5 separate regions of the Homo sapiens genome follow, and regions 1, 2, 3 and 5 are each linked to region 4. Evidence: promoter capture Hi-C in 16 types of primary human blood cells and fetal thymus (Javierre and others, 2016). All regions are on one chromosome and are shown on one strand. The core of a region is centred on a gene start or on the middle of the fragment in contact, and the rest is flanking DNA. Distances in the headings are between cores, read along the strand shown.

What was found. The method cuts DNA at HindIII sites, captures the fragments that hold promoters and counts their contacts. A CHiCAGO score of 5 or more calls a contact.
Region 1: a contact is called between the fragment with the promoter of JMY here and the fragment with the promoter of THBS4-AS1 in region 4, in 1 of 17 cell types (fetal thymus). The highest score is 8.0, in fetal thymus.
Region 2: a contact is called between the fragment with the promoter of MSH3 here and the fragment with the promoter of THBS4-AS1 in region 4, in 1 of 17 cell types (neutrophils). The highest score is 6.2, in neutrophils.
Region 3: a fragment that was not itself captured here is called in contact with the fragment with the promoter of THBS4-AS1 in region 4 in 2 of 17 cell types (erythroblasts and fetal thymus); the score reaches 8.3 in erythroblasts.
Region 5: a fragment that was not itself captured here is called in contact with the fragment with the promoter of THBS4-AS1 in region 4 in 2 of 17 cell types (erythroblasts and megakaryocytes); the score reaches 5.3 in erythroblasts.

Annotation. Positions count from the first base shown.
Region 1 is chr5:79,234,618-79,238,686 of GRCh38, forward strand. It overlaps JMY (junction mediating and regulatory protein, p53 cofactor), which reads left to right and starts at 1,514. Exons shown (of 11, transcript NM_152405.5): 1 at 1,514-3,065. The coding sequence starts at 2,034. LOC124901011 (a long non-coding RNA gene) reads right to left here and starts at 1,406. Exons shown (of 2, transcript XR_007058836.1): 1 at 1,194-1,406. RefSeq lists silencers at 1,416-1,465, 1,506-1,555, 1,586-2,025, 2,196-2,465, 2,749-3,043 and enhancers at 1,968-2,604, 2,656-3,075. The HindIII fragment of the contact is 5,598 bases long and covers 997-4,069 here.
Region 2 is chr5:80,652,678-80,656,402 of GRCh38, forward strand. It overlaps MSH3 (mutS homolog 3), which reads left to right and starts at 1,975. Exons shown (of 24, transcript NM_002439.5): 1 at 1,975-2,287. The coding sequence starts at 2,051. It overlaps DHFR (dihydrofolate reductase), which reads right to left and starts at 2,306. Exons shown (of 6, transcript NM_000791.4): 1 at 1,727-2,306; 2 at 1,331-1,380. The coding sequence starts at 1,812. RefSeq lists a silencer at 1,801-2,410 and an enhancer at 1,828-2,596. The HindIII fragment of the contact is 21,768 bases long and covers 1-3,725 here.
Region 3 is chr5:79,131,474-79,135,229 of GRCh38, forward strand. It overlaps BHMT (betaine--homocysteine S-methyltransferase), which reads left to right. Exons shown (of 8, transcript NM_001713.3): 8 at 1-815. Among named protein-coding and RNA genes, the nearest start is that of BHMT, 22 kb to the left of the region's middle. The HindIII fragment of the contact is 1,840 bases long and covers 1,542-3,381 here.
Region 4 is chr5:80,081,799-80,085,621 of GRCh38, forward strand. THBS4-AS1 (THBS4 antisense RNA 1) reads right to left here and starts at 1,867. Exons shown (of 8, transcript NR_109930.1): 1 at 1,702-1,867; 2 at 562-739. THBS4 (thrombospondin 4) reads left to right here. Exons shown (of 22, transcript NM_003248.6): 21 at 608-747; 22 at 1,282-1,489. The coding sequence ends at 1,343. RefSeq lists silencers at 1,176-1,265, 2,381-2,595. The HindIII fragment of the contact is 5,954 bases long and covers 1-1,883 here.
Region 5 is chr5:79,507,807-79,511,678 of GRCh38, forward strand. All of the region lies in intron 1 of HOMER1 (homer scaffold protein 1), which reads right to left. It also overlaps the pseudogene RPL29P15. Among named protein-coding and RNA genes, the nearest start is that of HOMER1, 4.4 kb to the right of the region's middle. The HindIII fragment of the contact is 1,413 bases long and covers 755-2,167 here.

The DNA.
Region 1 (4,069 bases), core at 264-2,763, 850 kb before region 4:
GCATTTGAGATTTGACACAAACTCAGTTACAAACTTTGAAAATTTGTGGTTTCAAATAATGAACTGTACAAAATGTTAAAAACCAGCTGGGCTCAGTGGCTCACGACTGTAATCCCAGCACTTTGAGAGGCCAAGGCGGTCGGATCACCTGAGGCCAGAAGTTCGAGACCAGCTTGGCCAACATGAAGAAACCCCGTCTCTAATAAAAATACAAAAATTAGTCGGGCTTGGTGGTGTGTGCCTGTAATCCCAGCTACTTGGGAGGCTGAGGCAGGAGAATCGCTTGAACCCGGGAGGCAGAGGCTGCAGTAAGCTGACATCGTGCCACTGTGCTCCAGCCTGGGCCACAGAGTGAGACTCTGTCTCAAAAAAAAAATTTTTTTTGGCTGTTTATTCAAATATCAGGACAATACTGAACCAAGTGTTGAAGCTTAGAGTTTAAGATGGACAATACTGAACTAAGTTTGAAGCTTAGCTAGTTCAGTACTGTTCTGTCATCTGAATAAACAGCTGTTTTTACTGAACCTAACAATACAAGGCTAATCCAAACGGTTTTGTATATACTTTAGAAATGTGAATAAATGTAAAAGAACTAATTTCCATTGTGCTTTACTATGGTGCACAACATCTGTGACTTGAATACTAATCGGAAAAAGAATGCCAATAATTATTATAAAGTCTACTAATTTTAAGAATGTGTTTCATCATAGTTTAGTAAGAATAGCAGAGATTGATATGACTGTTTTTGTATATGCATTCTGGGAACTCCCATAATTGAATACAACTTCAAAAGGGCTAAAGCCCAGTGACCTCAAAACGAGGTTCACAGAACAGTACATAATGATGAAACCTGAAGCAATAAAACACCAATGAACTGAAATGTAAACATTCATGCTGTTAGGACATGGCATTTTCATTTTTCATTTTGTTTTGGACTGTTACTGGGCTTTCCTCAGACACCTTCCTTTCATATATTAAACTCTGTCTTTCCAGAAAAGCTTCTGGAATTGTTTTTGTTTTTTGTTTTGGTCTCAAGGGCATTAGGGGAGAACCTAACAGGCTGGGGGCGAGCCCCACATAGTTCAGCACACCGTTCCCCGCGGCAACACGCTACTTCTGAACGCAGGAGCGACTCTCCGTCCGGGCTCCCTCCAGGAGAATGGAGGCAAATGTACATTCGAGGGTCTCAATACCTGGAATTCGAAACGTCTCAGTTCCTCCGCCTTAGTTCCTCTTTTCCCGGGTTCGGAGGCCACCTGTGCAGCAGGGCACACCTGCCACTCTCATCGCCCTCGGAGCCGGCAACCAGCCGACAGCCGGCTCCAGCCCCGGGGAACTGGAGGCTGCGCGGAAGGAAGGAGAGTCGGGAGCGCGGCCGCTCGCGGGCTGGCTCAGGGGACGCCGAGAGGAGGCGCCGGCGCGCGCGGGCGGGGTGCGCGCGCCGCCGCCGCCGCGTCACCAGCGTGCGGCACGTGCCCATGTTTACGTCCCTCGTGGAGCCGCCGACGTCAGCAGTCGAATGGCAACATTGTGGCGATGCTGAGGCGCAGAGTTTAGGAGACGGGTTCATCAGTCAGGCCGGCTCCGGGCTTTCTGCAGCAGCACCAGGGGCGGGGGCGGGGATCTTGACCTGGGCGAGCGACCGGGACGCATACAGCGCCGGCCTGACCCCGCGGGACCCGCGCCTCACCACCGGAGCGCCGCAGACGCAGCTCCACGGCCTCGCGCGGGGGGCGGCGGGCGGCCGCGAGGCGCTGCGGCAGCGCGGAGCTTGTAAACAGATCCGGCCGCAGGTGACCATGTGAACTACCTGCTCCCGGGACGCTTATTGTCCTTCTCTCGATCCGCGCCACAAAGGAGCTCGGCGGTCGGGGCGCGGAGGGACAGGCGAACGAGCCGGGAGAGCCGGCCGGCGCACTAAGATGGCTGAAGGCGCCCGGCGAGGGTGAGCGGGGGGCGCGGCGCAGCCAGCGGGGAGTCCTCGGGCGGGCCGGGCCGGCGGCCCTTCCCCGCGGCGAGAAGCCGGAGCCACCATGTCGTTCGCGCTGGAGGAGACGCTCGAGTCGGACTGGGTGGCTGTGCGGCCCCATGTGTTCGACGAGCGCGAGAAACACAAATTCGTCTTTATTGTGGCCTGGAACGAGATTGAGGGCAAGTTTGCCATAACCTGCCACAACCGGACGGCCCAGAGGCAGAGGAGCGGCTCCCGGGAGCAAGCGGGGGCGCGAGGGGGCGCCGAGGCCGGCGGAGCTGCGTCCGACGGGAGCCGCGGGCCCGGCAGCCCGGCGGGCAGGGGTCGGCCCGAGGCCACTGCCTCTGCAACTCTGGTTAGGAGCCCCGGGCCCCGGCGGAGCTCGGCCTGGGCGGAGGGCGGCTCTCCTCGGAGCACTCGCAGCCTTCTGGGGGACCCGCGGCTGCGGAGTCCTGGCAGCAAAGGGGCGGAGAGTCGTCTTAGGAGCCCAGTGCGGGCCAAACCCATCCCGGGTCAGAAAACATCTGAAGCCGACGATGCGGCGGGGGCAGCCGCTGCAGCAGCCCGGCCGGCGCCCAGAGAGGCCCAGGTGTCCTCTGTACGGATAGTGAGCGCCTCTGGGACGGTCTCCGAGGAGATAGAGGTGCTGGAAATGGTGAAGGAGGACGAGGCACCTCTGGCGCTCTCGGACGCGGAGCAGCCGCCGCCCGCCACCGAGCTGGAGTCTCCGGCCGAAGAGTGCAGCTGGGCCGGACTGTTTTCTTTCCAGGACCTGCGCGCCGTGCACCAGCAGCTGTGCTCGGTGAACTCGCAGTTGGAGCCGTGCCTGCCGGTGTTCCCCGAGGAACCTTCGGGCATGTGGACTGTGCTGTTTGGGGGCGCCCCCGAGATGACCGAGCAGGAAATCGACACTCTGTGTTACCAGCTCCAGGTCTACCTGGGCCACGGCCTGGACACCTGCGGCTGGAAGATCCTCTCCCAGGTGCTCTTCACCGAGACCGATGATCCCGAGGAGTATTACGAAAGCCTCAGCGAGCTGCGGCAGAAGGGCTACGAAGAAGTGCTTCAGCGGGCCAGGAAGCGCATCCAGGAGGTGAGTGAGTGAGCTCCTAGTCTGGGCTCTACTGGTCGCTTTTGGTTTACTGGCCAAACCAAAGGCTGGAGCCTCGGTGTCGGGTGTGCGCAGTAGGACGGTTGTTTTTCTGGACAAGCGGAAACCAAGAGGGGTTCCTGATCTACCTTGCCCTTCATCCCTCTCGGTGGCTGCTTAATTGACTCTCTGAAGGACCTTCGTCTTTATTTCCTCCCCCATTTATCAAAAGTAGTAAGTGCGCTCTGTGTACTACTCAGTACTGGTAATGCGCAATTAAAGCCACTAAGAAAAGTGTTCTGTAAGCATGGGCTACCTGAGCATTTTTCTACCCCTAAAGCTCTTCCAGCAATAACTGCCCAGATGTCAACTCTTCTTTGTCCTTGTCACCTTTATTTAAAATAGTTTGTCTTACGGAGCAAAGTTGATCTGTTTTGATTCTTCTTTGTGCAGTGTGGCAACCTACGCAAATTTTAAATTCATTTTTAAACGAGTGACCTAAGTGAAAAAGCACCTAGTGACTATCGGATGCAAATTTATTTTTAAAAGGTTTTTTAGAAGTGTTTTGTTTCTTTTTTTTTGGACTACCTCAGGTCTTTACAGATGGCTCAGGTTTCACTGCTGTTTTAGGTAGAAATAAAGATTCTGGGCAGGAATGTTCGTTGTATTTTTGTACTTACTGTAGAAGTACAAAAGCCTTTTCAAACTAATCCTTAAAATAACAAAAAAAAAGTGGAAGAAAGGGTCTGAATGGATATACATATGGGGCTCTAGAATGTGTAGGAAATGTGTAATTCATGCCTGCTCACTAGCTTCTGCTGAAGGAACTTTACTAAAAAAGTCTTTTAAAATAGACCCAGTTTTCCCTAATGGATACTACTACACGTAGTTTCTCAAAGCAAGTTACTGTTTTTACTATTAATGCAATTGAGATTGGTGGAGAAATGCACCCCCGCCCTCCGCGCCTTCTTTTTTTTTTTTTTTTTTGGAAGCAGTTTTGCTCCGTC
Region 2 (3,725 bases), core at 725-3,224, 570 kb after region 4:
GGTGTGAACCCGGGAGGCGGAGCTTGCAGTGAGCGGAGATCGCGCCACTGCACTCCAGCCTGGGCGACAGAGCAAGACTCCCTCTTAAAAAAAAAAAAAAAAAAGATTCTGAGTCAAAGTGCTCAAGTTGAATGCATTTTGTCACCCACAAGACAAAACGTGTTAACCCCTTGTGGTTTACTTTATCTATAAAATAGAGATAACAATAGTTCCTGCTTCTAGGGTTGTTGTGGGAATTAAAGACTTAGAATAATGTTCAGCCTCTAATCAGTGCTGTCACAACTGTCTGATACAATTGTATTATATTTGTGTACTTTGTAGATTGATATTAAATCATACTTTTAAAAATAGGTGCTTAATGTTCCACTCAATTACCTTAAAACATGTTTAATTATGTCTCTATCCTACTCTTATAACACTTCTATAAAAACTTTTTACATATAGCGTCCACTTTTGGTTCAGTTTCTTAGGAAAATAACTTTGAGAGTCAGCTATCTGAACCAAAGAAACATTAACATTACCAGACTATATTGGGATTTTTGAGACTGGCTTTTATCAATTCTTTAGCTACGGGCTCTTGTCATCATCTCTACCAGTGACCTAAGTGTCAAACCCAAATGCCTTGTATCTGTCCCATTAAAGAGATGCAGCATCTGCTCCTTTCTTACTGTTTCCATTTCCTCTGCCATGCCTCCTCTTACAACCATAAATATCCAGGTCTCTTAGGTTTTAAACGGGGCATCTCTCAACCCCCACATTCTTTTCCTTGGTTATTCCCTTCCCTCCAACAGTTCAATTCACCTAGATCCCCACGCCTGAAATTATCCTAGATGTCCTAGAGGCGCCTCATCATTACAATGGTACATTATTCTCCACTCCTTTACATGTCACGCCAGCTTTCAAACTGAAAATCTGAGCGTTCATCCCTGGTGCATCACCTTTAAATTCGAGATCTCCAAAATCCAGGGTCATGTAACCTTAAAAAATTTTTACCCTCTCTTCTCCACTGCCCTTGTTCAGGCCTTATCTCTTCCAGCAGCTGTTCCAAAGGCCTACTCTGTTTTCCTTTCGGAGTGCTCACCTCCACCGAAGCCTCCACCCAGCTGCCAATTCTGCCCCATGCCTGATAATTTGCTCGTGCGTTGACATACATAAAATTTCTAAGACAAAAATTTTTTAATAATGGTAAATGAACCTTGGGAACTGCATACAGATCATACAGATCCATAATAAGAGAAAAGGTCCCAGATTAACACGGAAAACTTTCCATTTAACTAACATTTGCACTGGTAAACTTCATCAAGCAAGACCCTACTTAATCCCACATTACCTTCTACTGAAGAGGTTGTGGTCATTCTCTGGAAATATCTGAATTCATTCCTACAAGTTAGAGAAACAGCGTTACTCGAAACATTATCCCTTGGGCTCGAGCTCTAAGGCACCTGACAAACGGAGCGCTGTGGGTAGGGGTGAGGTGTTTTCTCCAGGGCTGGGACTTTGCCCTGGGCGAGGGCGCCGCAGGGCAAAGACCTCACCGGGCAGCAGAATCCGGGCAGAAATCAGCAACTGGGCCTCCCGCGCAGCAGAAAAGGGGAATCCAGTCGGGCCCACCCTTCCTGCCAGCGCAGACCGCAAGTCTGGCCCCATCCTCTCGCCGGGAGTCGGCCACCCCGACCGTGGGCAGCCTGCGCCCGTTTGGGTCCCATCGCCCCGGCCCGGCAGATACCTGAGCGGTGGCCAGGGCAGGTCCCCGTTCTTGCCGATGCCCATGTTCTGGGACACAGCGACGATGCAGTTTAGCGAACCAACCATGACAGCAGCGGGAGGACCTCCGAGCCCGCTCGTTACAGCAGAACGCGCGGTCAAGTTTGGCGCGAAATTGTGGCCGCCCCGCCCCCCTCGTCCCCATTTGTGCAGGCGAGGCCCCGCCCCCCCGCCCCGGCGCACGCAGGGTCGCGGCGTGCTCGCGCCCGCAGACGCCTGGGAACTGCGGCCGCGGGCTCGCGCTCCTCGCCAGGCCCTGCCGCCGGGCTGCCATCCTTGCCCTGCCATGTCTCGCCGGAAGCCTGCGTCGGGCGGCCTCGCTGCCTCCAGCTCAGCCCCTGCGAGGCAAGCGGTTTTGAGCCGATTCTTCCAGTCTACGGGAAGCCTGAAATCCACCTCCTCCTCCACAGGTGCAGCCGACCAGGTGGACCCTGGCGCTGCAGCGGCTGCAGCGGCCGCAGCGGCCGCAGCGCCCCCAGCGCCCCCAGCTCCCGCCTTCCCGCCCCAGCTGCCGCCGCACATAGTAGGTTCTGTCTGGGACTGGGCAGGGCCATCGGGGCTGGGGGGGCGGGGCTTGTGGGTAAGGCGGGCGGAGGCGGGGACCCTCCGCCCGATGATAGGGCTGGAGGAGGAAGGGGCGGGCTGAAGAAGGGGAAGGTGGGAAGAGCCCAGCCGGGGCTACAAATTGGGTGAAGCGCTGAGGTTTTAGTACTTCCGTTTGAGGAGATAGGCAAAGGTTATGCAGGTTTTTAATGGCAGGCCTGAGACAGGAACTCAGGTCTCCTGACTCCCATTCTGATGAGGGGGCTTGTGGGCAAGGGGTGCGTCTTTTAACCTCCATCCTTTTTTTTTTTCCTTGGTGGTCGAAGAGTTTTACTGATTTTTTAAAAAAGTGCTGGATTGGGTGACTAGAAGAAAGCTGCCCTTAGGTCTCCAGTTTTTAAGACTGCAACAGCATGGCTCAATATTTGAAATCACTACGGTTAAAAGCAGTCATATTGTGCAGTTCCCCAGTGAACTCTTTTTGTAGTTTAGATTATAAAGTCTGAAATACAGTTTGGGTGGATAAAGTTTCTTAGGATGGTATAGATGTGACTAATCATGGAGTCCTTCCTGTTGCCATCCTTCAACGCAATAAGTACGTTTGTTTGTTTTTAAACCAGAGATACTGCCACAGGAAAAGCCCAAGGGTGACCCCTCACTTGGGTCACCTGCACAGTATTTTTCAGATTGAGGCTGTGGAAGGGCATTGAAGACTGGTGTTTAGCCACCTACCGTGTTTTAATGTAGGTGGCAGCTTGGGTGCTTCAAAATCTTGTTCCTTTCGTATATATTTCTCCCTTAAAATGATTACTCCTCTTCTGTTTTTTTTGAGGACGAGCTACGTTTTCATGAATTCACCAAAATTTTGCACCCACCATTTAAAGGGTAGCTGGTGAAGGACTTATGTATGCTTTTGGCAAGTTTTCTGCCAAGAAAAAATTCATAATCTTGTCACATCTTTAGTGATGAACATAAACCTTTTAAACAGGAAACACTTAAATTGCAGTGAACATGTCAAAAATGATACTGTTCTTTTATTACCTATCTTTTCCCCTCTGTGCCTTTGCTACATAACTGTTTATTTCTTAGAGGTATTTTATTTAGCATATGTAAGTAGGGTGATTCAAGTTTTATAATTAGAGAAAGCTGAAGGCTCATTGAATCAAGACCGGTAGCAGCCTTGGTTTCAATTAATTCTAAACACGGCTTGAGTTGCTGAGGCTCCTGACTATCAGACTCTACCTTGTCTTTTATGGTGTTAAAAACAGTTCACCCATAGGGTTTTCCAGAGCTAAAAGTAGAGGATTCTTTGAAGAGTGGATGGCAAGGAACCTTGTCATTCAGTTGTAAGGTTTAAATTGCTTCACATACGTCAGGCCTTCTCAGAGTAGAGATAACACATCATTTTCTAACCTTCC
Region 3 (3,756 bases), core at 1,212-3,711, 950 kb before region 4:
TCAGCAACCAGCCAGGGACAGATAAAGCGCTATGGAAAGGGGCTTCCAAGTTCTTTTGAACATGACCCTTAGTAACAAACACAATTTATATAATGACCCAGCAAAACACATCACATCTTACTGTCGAAATTAAATGTGTGATCCATCCTAGTATTTTCTGTTCCATTCCTTTTCATTCTATTTCATTTATAAAACATGCTAGTTGAGACTTTTCAAATGGATTTTTATGACCCACTACTGGGTTTGGATCCACAGTTTGAAAAATATTGCTACAAGACACTTAAGGAGACCATCCTGTTTAAGTTTATTCTTATAAGTAGGTCAGTCATATGAGACCTGATCAATAAATATCCAATACCCAGAGTCCTGCTCTCAGAGTTCTTCTGTTTCGTGACCCACTTTTCTACCAGTAAAAGACATAGACCAATGGGGAGGAGGGGAGGAGAGATGGATATTTCAGCCCTCTCCATCCTAGTCAACACTGGATCCACCTAGTGCCTCTGGGCCATAAGGCTGAGCAGAGTGAGCTTGTATTAGTTGGTAGCTTTTAAAAAATATAATAAGAAAAAAGTAGAGATTCTCCAAACTCTAGCCTGGTTTCCTAGATTGAGAACTATGATATTTTTCTCTGATAATTTAATATCTACTCTCCTACAAAAGCTCAAGCCTGAAGATACAAGACTATTAGAAGAAACATGACTACCCTCAGTGTATTAGAAAAGAGGTCATGCAGCTTTCTAAACATTATTGAATTGTTTGAGCTGTTTTGAAATTGTAATTCTTTTCAGCTATTAAAAAGAAGAGCAATGAGACTATATTGCTTGTATTTTATTCTTATCCTGGTTCTACAATTTGCTAAGTCTTACATGAAACCTCTATACCTCAATTTCTTCACCTATTTAAAAGAAAAACCTACTTCACAAGTATGCTGGAATTTTAAAGGAGCAGGTGGCAGTATTTAAAAGGAAAAGAGGCCCTACTGGCTCTTTCTGGAGAGCCAGTCAGGGAATTCTAGAAAACAAAAATAGGCCAGGTGTGGTGGCTTACGCCTGTAATCCCAGCACTTTGGGAGGTGGACGGATTACTTGAGGATAGGAGTTCAAGACCAGTTTGGCCAACATGGTGAAACCCTGTCTCTACTAAAAATACAAAAATTAGCCAGGTGTGGTGGCACACACCTGTAGTCCCAGCTATTCGGGAGGCTGAGGCATGAGAATCACTTGAACCTGGGAGGCAGAGGCTGCAGTGAGCTGAGATTGCACCACTGCACTCCAGCCTGGGAGACAGAGTGAGACTCTGTCAAATAAATAAATAAATGGAAAGGCAAAGAAATTGCTAGAATTTTGTTACTAAGAGTTAATAATCCACCCCTAATCCCTCAATGCACAGAAACAGAGCCAAAGCAGCACAACTTTCAGAGGCTGCATATGGCTAGTGGAAACAAGAGTGAACTCCACTTGTTTTTTGTTTTTTGTTTTTTTTTTTGGCAAAGTTGTTATCTATCATTTCTCTTATATTCTCAAACCAAGCTCAGTATTTAAAGCTTTCACTCACAGATGACATTTTATTGGACTTGCTGTTCTATTACTGTGTAAAATGCATGTTCCTTTAATATTCTTTTCAGAGTTTTGTTGCCACCAAAATATTATAACCTTTAATCATTTTTATATCCATCGTTTTTTAAAATATTTTTCTGAAAAGGAGCTATGGTAAAGACATTCTTGAATTAAATTATATGTCAACACTGCCTCCTAGTGGTATAGTTCATATTTTGAAATTGTTTTTAAAATTTCAGTCCCTCCTCCAAACATGTGCATTTTATTTCCAGAAATCTTGTTCATTAAGAGAGAAAGCTCATTTAATACCTAAGAGTTGATTTATGTTAAATAGACATTTCTCACTGGTAAATATTTTTTATGGACTCCGAACCAGAGGGACCTTAGAGATCAAAAGTCCAAACTATCCTTTTAAGGATAAGATTACCAAGGCAGGATGCAAAGTCAGGAAGCACTTCTCACTATTCCAAGGCTGTCAAGAAAGACGGCTTTAGCTTAGCCTTTTGTAGGAAGGGTTGGGGAAGCTGGGGGGCAGTACCAGAACAGATGGTCCACAAAACTAAGGAGTCATCCTCCAGCCAGGAATAAAATAAAGGTCTTTGGCGTTACTCAGAGTAAACATGAACTCACTAAATAAACTGTTTGCAGTTTGTACTCTGACACTTCTACACACTGTAGCAAACCACCTTTGGATAAGACAGCCAAGCCAACGCAGACCCCTAAAGGAAACAAGAACTGCGCAGGAATGAATCAAGAACATCCGTTCCCAACTTCTCCAGATGGGGGCAGCAGGTCGCCAGCAGGAAATGCATGAGTAACCTTATTTTGTTTGAACTTAAGTTATTTCATCAGGCTAAGCTCTAACAGTTTTGGTCAGTTTTTTCTTAAGACATGTGGATCTTTGAATCACATCCAGGACAACGCACCCATCAAGAAAAGCCTTTAACAAGTTTGAGTCAGGAATTAAAAAAGAGGAAGGAAGGGAGAAAGGGAGGGAAAAAGGGAGGGAGAACGGGAGGGAAGGAAAGAAAGGAGAGAGGGAGGGAGGGAGGAGAGAGGCAGGGAGGGAGGAAGGAGGGCGGGGAGGGACTGCAGGAGAGCAGGCAGGCAGGCAGGCTTTATGCATCTCCAACTAGATCCCCATTTTCCCCAGAAACGTTTTTTTTTTTCCAGCCTTCAGCACACTGAAGGGCTTGAGGGCTTTATAGACTGTTCTCCCAAATAGCCTCCTTGATAGTCAATAACATCCACTCAGTCAGTCTGGAACCTCCCACGTGTTACCTGCCAGGTCAAGGACCCTGGCTCTTAGATAACAAAGGAGGAAGAAGTCAATTTCAAGAGAGAAAAATAGGACTTATGAACGGCTTCAGAAATAGTATGCCTGGTGGGATGTTAAACGACAGAATTAGAGATAGCAAGGTATAATATTTCTAAACATCTTCAGGAAGGAATATTTAGTGTTTGAACAGAAAATGATGAAAGGCAGGCAAATGCAAAGAATTCTCAAAAATGGTAACAGGAAGGGTAGGATCCTTTGGTAAAATTGGTGGGAGTGTGGTGAGAGAAAGGAATGGCCAGAAAATGCTTCCGGTTTTCAAGCAGCTGGAGGCATTCTGTTGGCATTGGATAGATGAAAAATTAAGATGATGGAAAATGAGAGAGACAGATGTCATCATTTATGCTGCTGTGAGTTACAGGAATAATACCAAACAAGTCATGTACAGCAAAACAGTAAAAACAGGTTAATTTATATGCCATGAAATCAAACGCATGATCATTTTAACTTGTGGTTAGATGGTTAGATGTTTACATTTAAATTTATTAAAGCTTCCAGGCTGGGCACGGTGGCTCACGCCTATAATCCCAGCAGTTTGGGAGGCCAAGGCAGGCAGATCACTTGAGGTCAGGAGTTCAAGACTAGCCTGCCAACATGGTGAAACCCCATCTCTACTAAAAACGCAAAACTTAGCTGGGCGTAGTGGCAGGCGCCTGTAATCCCAGCTACTTGGGAGGCTGAGGCAGGAGAATCACTTGAACTTGGGAGGCGGAGGTTGCAGTGAGCCGAGATCGCACCACTGCACTCTAGCTTGGGCAACAAGAGTGAAACTCCATCTCAAAAAAATAAATAAATAAAAATAAAAATAAATAAATTTATGAAAGTTTCCTATGTAAATACTTACATGAAATGTATTAAGGGAAA
Region 4 (3,823 bases), core at 617-3,116:
TGGAATGCAGGACAGGTTTTGATTGTTCTCGCCAGGGCATTGCTCGCCATCCAGCATCCCTGGCTGCCATCACTCAGTGCCACTGTGACAACCCAAAGTGTCCCCACAGATTCCTCCAACTCTACTTAGGGAGTGCTGTCTCCTGTGGAGAATCATTGCTCTGAGATTCCACCAAAAGATATAAATCAGACCAAAGGAAAAGCCAAAGTTTTTAAGCATGGTATCTAGACAAGGCAACTCACATGACAATAAGACACAAAACTTTCTCACTCAAGATAGCAGGTTTGGTTTGGTTTGATTTTTAACTCAAGTTTGATAGTGTGACCAACATCATGTTAGGCCTTGTGAGAGACAGAAGTTGGGAAGAAACACCCCCCACCCCCCTCCACACACACACGGACACACACGGTCCCTGCCCTCAAGGACTTCCAGTCTAGTAAGTAAGTGGCAACAGCTACAGTACAATCCAGGTCAGCGAAAAATGGAGCCTAAAACAGAGCAAAGAAAGACGCAGGTACGTATAAGAAGTGGGGCCCCTGGGCCTCACAGTGGGCACTTTACCCCGGGTTGGATTTCATGGAGGCCCCTCCGGCCGTGTTGTCCGCAGGGTACGATTTTATGAAGGCTCTGAGTTGGTGGCTGACTCTGGCGTCACCATAGACACCACAATGCGTGGAGGCCGACTTGGCGTTTTCTGCTTCTCTCAAGAAAACATCATCTGGTCCAACCTCAAGTATCGCTGCAATGGTAATGTGCATTCTCGTTACTGTTCAACATTGTTACTAGAATTAGTCAAACACTGCCACCTTATTTTTATACCGCACTTCCCCCCCAAAAGCCCAACGCTCATACCACATAGTCATTAAAACCTGATAGTCCCTGTGTACCAGAAGTAAAAAGCAGATCACATTTATCCTATTTTATCCATGTGGAAATTAAGACCCATAGAATTTAACTGCATGGTTTAGGGTTTGGGGTTCAGTGAGAAATCCAGTCAGATTTAATTTACAGGAAGCCTTTATTTTCATGTGGTTAAAACATAATCACAGATGCAAAATCCATTCTGCCTGCTGATTTTCTGCACGGCCGGGAAGGAGCACTCCTGGGCTTTAAGCCAACGGTTTGCAAAGCAGCCTGCAGGAGAAAATGGCGGCGAGGGCCTGCGGGGCGTCCTGGGCGGGCTAACAGCGCCCCCTACAGGACGCCTGAGCCGCGGGCGGGGGTCCGGGGTCCGGGGTGGAAGGAGCCTCGCTAACCTCCCTGTGCCCATTCCTATTGCAGACACCATCCCTGAGGACTTCCAAGAGTTTCAAACCCAGAATTTCGACCGCTTCGATAATTAAACCAAGGAAGCAATCTGTAACTGCTTTTCGGAACACTAAAACCATATATATTTTAACTTCAATTTTCTTTAGCTTTTACCAACCCAAATATATCAAAACGTTTTATGTGAATGTGGCAATAAAGGAGAAGAGATCATTTTTAAAAACCGTGTTGCTCAGACATTGCTCTCACGTGGCTCAGGCTTTGAGGTGCCCGTTCTCGGAGGGATCCCTGTTAACTTGCAGGGTGGTAGTTTCTTCTCAGACCCGGTGGCCGATAAGATGAGCCTATGCGTGAATCACAAGGCCCAGGCCAGAGGTCTCAGCTGGGGTCCCCCCAGTTTGCTCCATACAAAACGCCTAACCGTTCCATGCTCACCTTGGCAGCCTCCTTATTTCGGGTAAGGGGTCTCAGAAACACGTGTTTGGGGTGGCACCTTCCCTAGGGAGGCGTTTTTCTGACCTAGTCCTGGGACAGATTTGCCCAATTCTTTCTGATGCTGTCATCCCATCCCACACCTTCCACAGACTTCTATTCTGGCCCCTTCAACGTAATTCTTAAGCTTATTTATATATTTGGCTCCCCCTAGTGGACTGTAAGCATATTGACAATAAAGGATCATGTCATTACAATCAATATCCCCACAGTACCTGGAATGTAGTAAATAGCCAGTAAATGTTTACTGAATTAATAAACGAAGAATGAATGAATGAATGCCTCTTAAAGGACAGTAGAGTGTACATGATCATAAAAGTCCTCCTCAACTCAAAAAGTCACAACATATCCTCTATTTGTGGTACCAGTAGCTGGATGTACAGCACAGAAACTTGCCTAATTTGTACACTAGCCTTTCTTGTATTTCAATTGTAAATCAAGATCCAAGCAAATTTTTATAAATTCTCTAGAAATTTTGTTTCAAAGAATATTGCTGTGCGGTTATATATTTTCTTATTCCAGAATTCCTAGAGATATATTAAATCATGTATGAAGAAAAAAACACCACAGTTTTATCATGACTTTAACAGTGAGAAAATACAATGGTGCATGCATGAGATCTGGAGGATTTCTGGACATCCTCCTCTCATGTACAGCCTGGAGATGTGTGTGGCCTTGTAATCCAGGACATCTGATCTCCTACATCAAAAACTCCAATGGGGCCAGGTGTGGTGGCACTTGCCTGTGGTCCCAAGCACTTTGGGAGGCCAAGGCAGGCAGATCACTTGAGGCCAGGAGTTCAAGACCAGCCTGGCCAACGTGGCGAAACCCATCTCTACTAAAAATACAAAAATTAGCCAGGTGTGGTGCCACTTGCCTATAGTCCCAGCTATTTGGGAGGTTGAAGTGGGAGAATCACTTGAGCTGGGGAGGCAGAGGCTGCAGTGAGCAGAGATTGCACCACTGTACTCCAGCCTGGGCAATGAGAGTGAGGCTGGTGAAAGGAGGCAGCAACCCACACCATGCCCACCCCTGGGGCAGCCTCCCTGTTGTCGGCTGTGCAAGCCCAAGAACGCAGTATGTCCACAGGAAACAGACTCTCTTGGTTAAATCTTTTGTGTCTATAACTATTTTAGAAACCATGGGCCCACAGGAGATCCAGAACATAATTCCATCCCTTAGGGAGCTTATTACATTTTTGGGAAGACAAAACTTGTTATTTATGCAAAACAAGAAACAAAGACGCATGTAGAACCAGCAGTGTGCTGAAGCCAACTCCTACCAGCTCATAAGAGCCAACTATTCAAGTTTTAGGAATATTGTGAGCCAGTTAAACGGTTGGTAGTTTGAAATTGGCCATGGTGGGAGTATTTACACAGAAACTGGCAAACACTACAAATCAGGGCTCCAGAGAACTGGTTGTTAAATATTTATCAGCACACAAGTGATTATTCTACCTTGTCCTATTCCTAGTTGGCCCTCCTTATATTTTTGAAGCTGATGTAGAAAACTTGAGGCTTTCAGAAAATTTCTTGCATAAGAAATGAAGTAAGAAAAGTGAAAATGGGTGGGGTGCTATGGCTCACACCTGTAATCCTAGCACTTTGGGAGGCCTAGGTGGGAGGATCGCTTGAGGTCAGGAGTTTGGGACCAGTCTGGCCAACATGGTAAAACCCCATCTCTACTAAAAATACAAAAATTAGGCCAGGTGCAGTGGCTCCTGCCTATACTCCCAGCTCCTCAGGTGGCTGAAGCACAAGAATCTCTTGAACCCGGGAGGCGGAGGTTGCAGTGAGCTGAGATCGTGCCACTGCACTCCAGCCTGGGCGACAGAGCAAGACGTGTCTCCAAAAACAAAAACAAAAAAAAAAAAAAGTGAAAATCAGGAAGCACTTGAGAGAAGCTAGCCAGTTGCAGACTGACGGGATGAGCTAGCAGGTGTGGTATGCTCTCCCCCAGGTAACTCCCTGGGCTTCTTGGATACTTGTTATACTCAACCTTAGCACAATGACTCAAATTCCTATTACAGTTCCATTAGGTTAGTAAGAGCCTCATTTGAATCTTA
Region 5 (3,872 bases), core at 211-2,710, 570 kb before region 4:
TATGAATAAGGACAGTTTCTTCTGTCAACCCCTTAACTCCCAAATTCACTATTTTATGACCCATAGTTAGTGACTCTGCTAAGAACATACCATGCTCTTTGCTACATTCTTACCTCTCCAATGAAATGTCCTAATTCTGAAAAAGCCCCGTTCAGCCAACTACACATCTCTCAGTCACCATCCCTCCCCTCCCCACTTCGGAACCTTCCAGGGCCTGCCCAACTGTCCACTTCCTCTACCCAGCCAGAGTTCATTGTTCTGGCTTGGTGTTTCCACAGGATACAAGACACAAAACCAAATTGTAAATGATTTTTAAAATTGCTTTCTTATTCTACTTCCCTGATCATGTTCTTACTCTGCTTAAAACCCTTTAGTAATCTTCACACAGAAGAGAAGTGCTTTTCAAATTACCAGTTGCTAACACAGCGTCATTAAATAAATTGAGTGGGTCACCATCATCAGTCTATCTTAAAAATAAAATAGAACGGAACAGAATAGAAACTACCAGAGTGTACCATACAAAGCAAGGGTATTATGTAGTGACATTTTATCATTTATATACAAGCATATTGGGTTGCAATGTAAAGATGCTTATCTTTCCAACGGGTCATAGCCAAAAAAACCTCTAAACACACTAAACTACAGGATAATCCAATCTTTCATTTGATCTACATGGTTCTCCAACCCAGTCCCTGCATAATAAGGCTCTAGACCTATCTCTTGCTACACCAAAGGGAGCTAGCTCAAGCAAACAAGCTTGTCATGCCAAACTCCTTTGCAGTTCCTCGTTTTAGTGGTGTCAATCACTGTTCTCTCTGCCTTGAATGCCCTCTTATTTGTCTAAGAGGCTCACTTGTACTCATCTTTCAGTATTTAACAACTATCACCTCCTCTACAAAGCCTTTTTATCCTTCCCTCAGCAGCTAATGCCCCCCCAACACACACTTTGTGTCTCCATAATGCCCTACATTATAGCTCCTACAAAATTTCATTGCACATTTTAATTTTAGGCTTGACTGTCTGCCCAACTTCCAAAGTATAAACTCACTAAGGGAAGGAGCACATTGTATTGGCCTTCCTATCAGCAGCACTGAGGTAAGTACACGCACTATAACAAAGGTTCAAAGTTGGTAAAATGAACAAATGACGAATTAAGGACTTGCATCTAAGTTGTCTATTGTCAGATATGATAGGGTGGTTATCTTTGCAATAAAACCCATTTATAGTGCTGGATCAAGATTTTCACATTTTTGCTACAACCCCTAGAGAGCAGAACCCTGCAGTTTGAGGCAGAAGGAGGTGTCAGCTTCCCATCTTTCAGCAAAGAGACTCAGTTTGGGCTGCAATGTAGCAGCACTCATTTCCATGCTTCTGGAAGTTATTTGGGGAAAGAGGGGAAGGAAGGACTCCAGAAGTTCCCATAGGCAGGTGAGATAAATCAGAAACAGCATTAACAGATTCCATTAGCAGGGAGAGCCCCATTTTATGTATAAGTAGCTCTTAATAAGGGAAGGGAGGGAAAGAATTCTTTACCATTGCTGATGGCACTAGGTTGCCAAAATGAGCTAAGTAAAAACAAAGGGTTTCATGAAATAAGTGGTTGAAGTTACTTGATTTCTGTTGCCTACTGTGATAGTTCTGAAATAGCTACTGACTCACTGCTGTCATTATGAGATACTATTTGGAGGTGGGGGTGGGGGTCATACCTAACAGGGGCTCCTCACTGAGGCTTCAAAACTTTTCAGAGACTTCATTTTACATACATGAATGCCTTAATTTTTAGGGGATCTGATACACCTATTTTACAAACCCATACTTTAGTTGCCTTCACTGCAATTAACAGTTCATGCAACATCCAAGATACTTTGACAGACTTTGCCAACTGTCAAGTTTCAGCTGTTCTTCTCCATTTCCAAAAAGTTCATAAACTACTATTAGGGGAGCCATAATTTTTTTCTGCCCAATCACTGATTTTATTAAAAATAATTCCTTTGCTTAGACTGCCCCTAGACTTGCAATAATTATCTACAATTAAGACGAAGATAAATCCTTATTATAACCTAACATTAGTTTAAAAAAAGAAGGTTGTAATATGTGAAACACTTTACCCACAGTATTAAATTTTAGATATCTATTACAGTAAGGTAATTATGGATTGCCAAGGTAAAGCTTTAAAAGCCATTTAAAGCCCTGTTTCCTTTTGCTTGAAATAGGTCCAGGCAGCTATGCTAATTCCACAAACATTTATTAGGCATAAATACGCATAAAGTGTGGAAACGTCAGCAAATGCCTTTGCTGTATGCTCTTCTACTTCCATCTACCCTTCCTCTCTCTACTCAAGTCACTATCAATGAGAAAGGGTCATAGCCCCAAATACAGGCTTTCCAAAAAAAAAAAAATAGCACCACAAAATGCTCGCTCCTTTTTCTCCTCAGTCCATATATAGAACTTTATTAACTAAAGGGCAGATACATTCATTTATAAACAAATTAATTATGCTAAGTGTCTAAATGCATGTTATGTGTGGTGCTAACTTTCCCACTTTAAACAACAGCCCCCTTAGTATTAAATTCATCCTGTCTCTTCAGATTCTAGGCGCTTCAGGAGCCGCGCCTTAAGGTGCAGACATGGCCAAGTCCAAGAACCACACCACACACAACCAGTCCCAAAAATGGCACAGAAATGGTATCAAGAAACCCGAAGCACAAAGATACGAATCTCTTAAGGGGGTGGACCCCAAGTTCCTGAGGAACATGCAGTTTGCCAAGAAACACAACAAGAAGGGCCTAAAGAAGATGCAGGCTAACAGTGCCAAGGCCATGAGTGCACATGCCAAGGCTATCAAGGCCCTCCTAAAGCCCAAGGAGGTTAAGCCCAAGATCCCAAAGGGTGTCAGCCGCAAGCTCAACTTGCCTACACTGTCCACCCCAAGCTTGGGAAGCATGCTCGTGCCCGCATTGCCAAGGGGCTCAGGGTGTGCTGGCCAAAGGCCAAGGACAAGGATCAAACCAAGGCCCAGGCTGCAGCTCCAGCTTCAGTTCCAGCTCAGGCTCCCAAAGGTGCCCAGGCCCCTACAGAGGCTTCAGAGTAGATATCTCTATCTGCCAACGTGAGGACAGGACTGGTGCGACCCCCCGCCAGGCTGCCATCTGCATGGGGCTGTGGGGCTGGGGTCCTCCTGTGCTATTTGTACAAAGAAACCTCAGGCAGGGAAAAAAAAATTCATCCTAAGCTTCCCTTGGTAAAATGACAGGCATTCATGCAGCTTAAAGGTTCTGGAAAACTGATTTTCTTCCATGATGCTACTACTCCACAGTCTAGACAAAATGCAGCCATCAACATGAAAAACTGCTGCTTGATTTTTTTTCCTCCAACATGTTTTAAACAGAGCTGCAGATGCTCAAGGGAAGCCATATTTCTAAGGTTTTGAACAGTAGTATTTTTCAGTATTTTTCTCATTTAAAATTGGTGCAATTCATCCAAAACATTTTTCAAATGCCATTATTTTTCAGCGTTAAGCGCTTAAACTGCTTAGAGTGAAAAAGGTCTCCATCAGAAAGATCGACTTGCAGAAACCAACTAGTGATCATTAAAATGAGGAGGAGAATAAAAAGAAAGCAATTCGTTTTTTACAGTTTGGAGAAATCTTTAAGTCATCTCTAAATCGTTCATTTTACAGGTAAGAAATAGAGTCCACAGAGGTCAAGTAATTTGCCTCAGATCACTAAGCTACTAATAGCAGCGCTAGAAATAGAATGAGGTATTTTAATTACTCTTAGCGGTACCCCCAAATCATGCAAGTTATATATATTCTCATCACTTGTCATTCAAGTTTTTAAAACCATTATAACTTTGTCATTAATTTCTGAGGA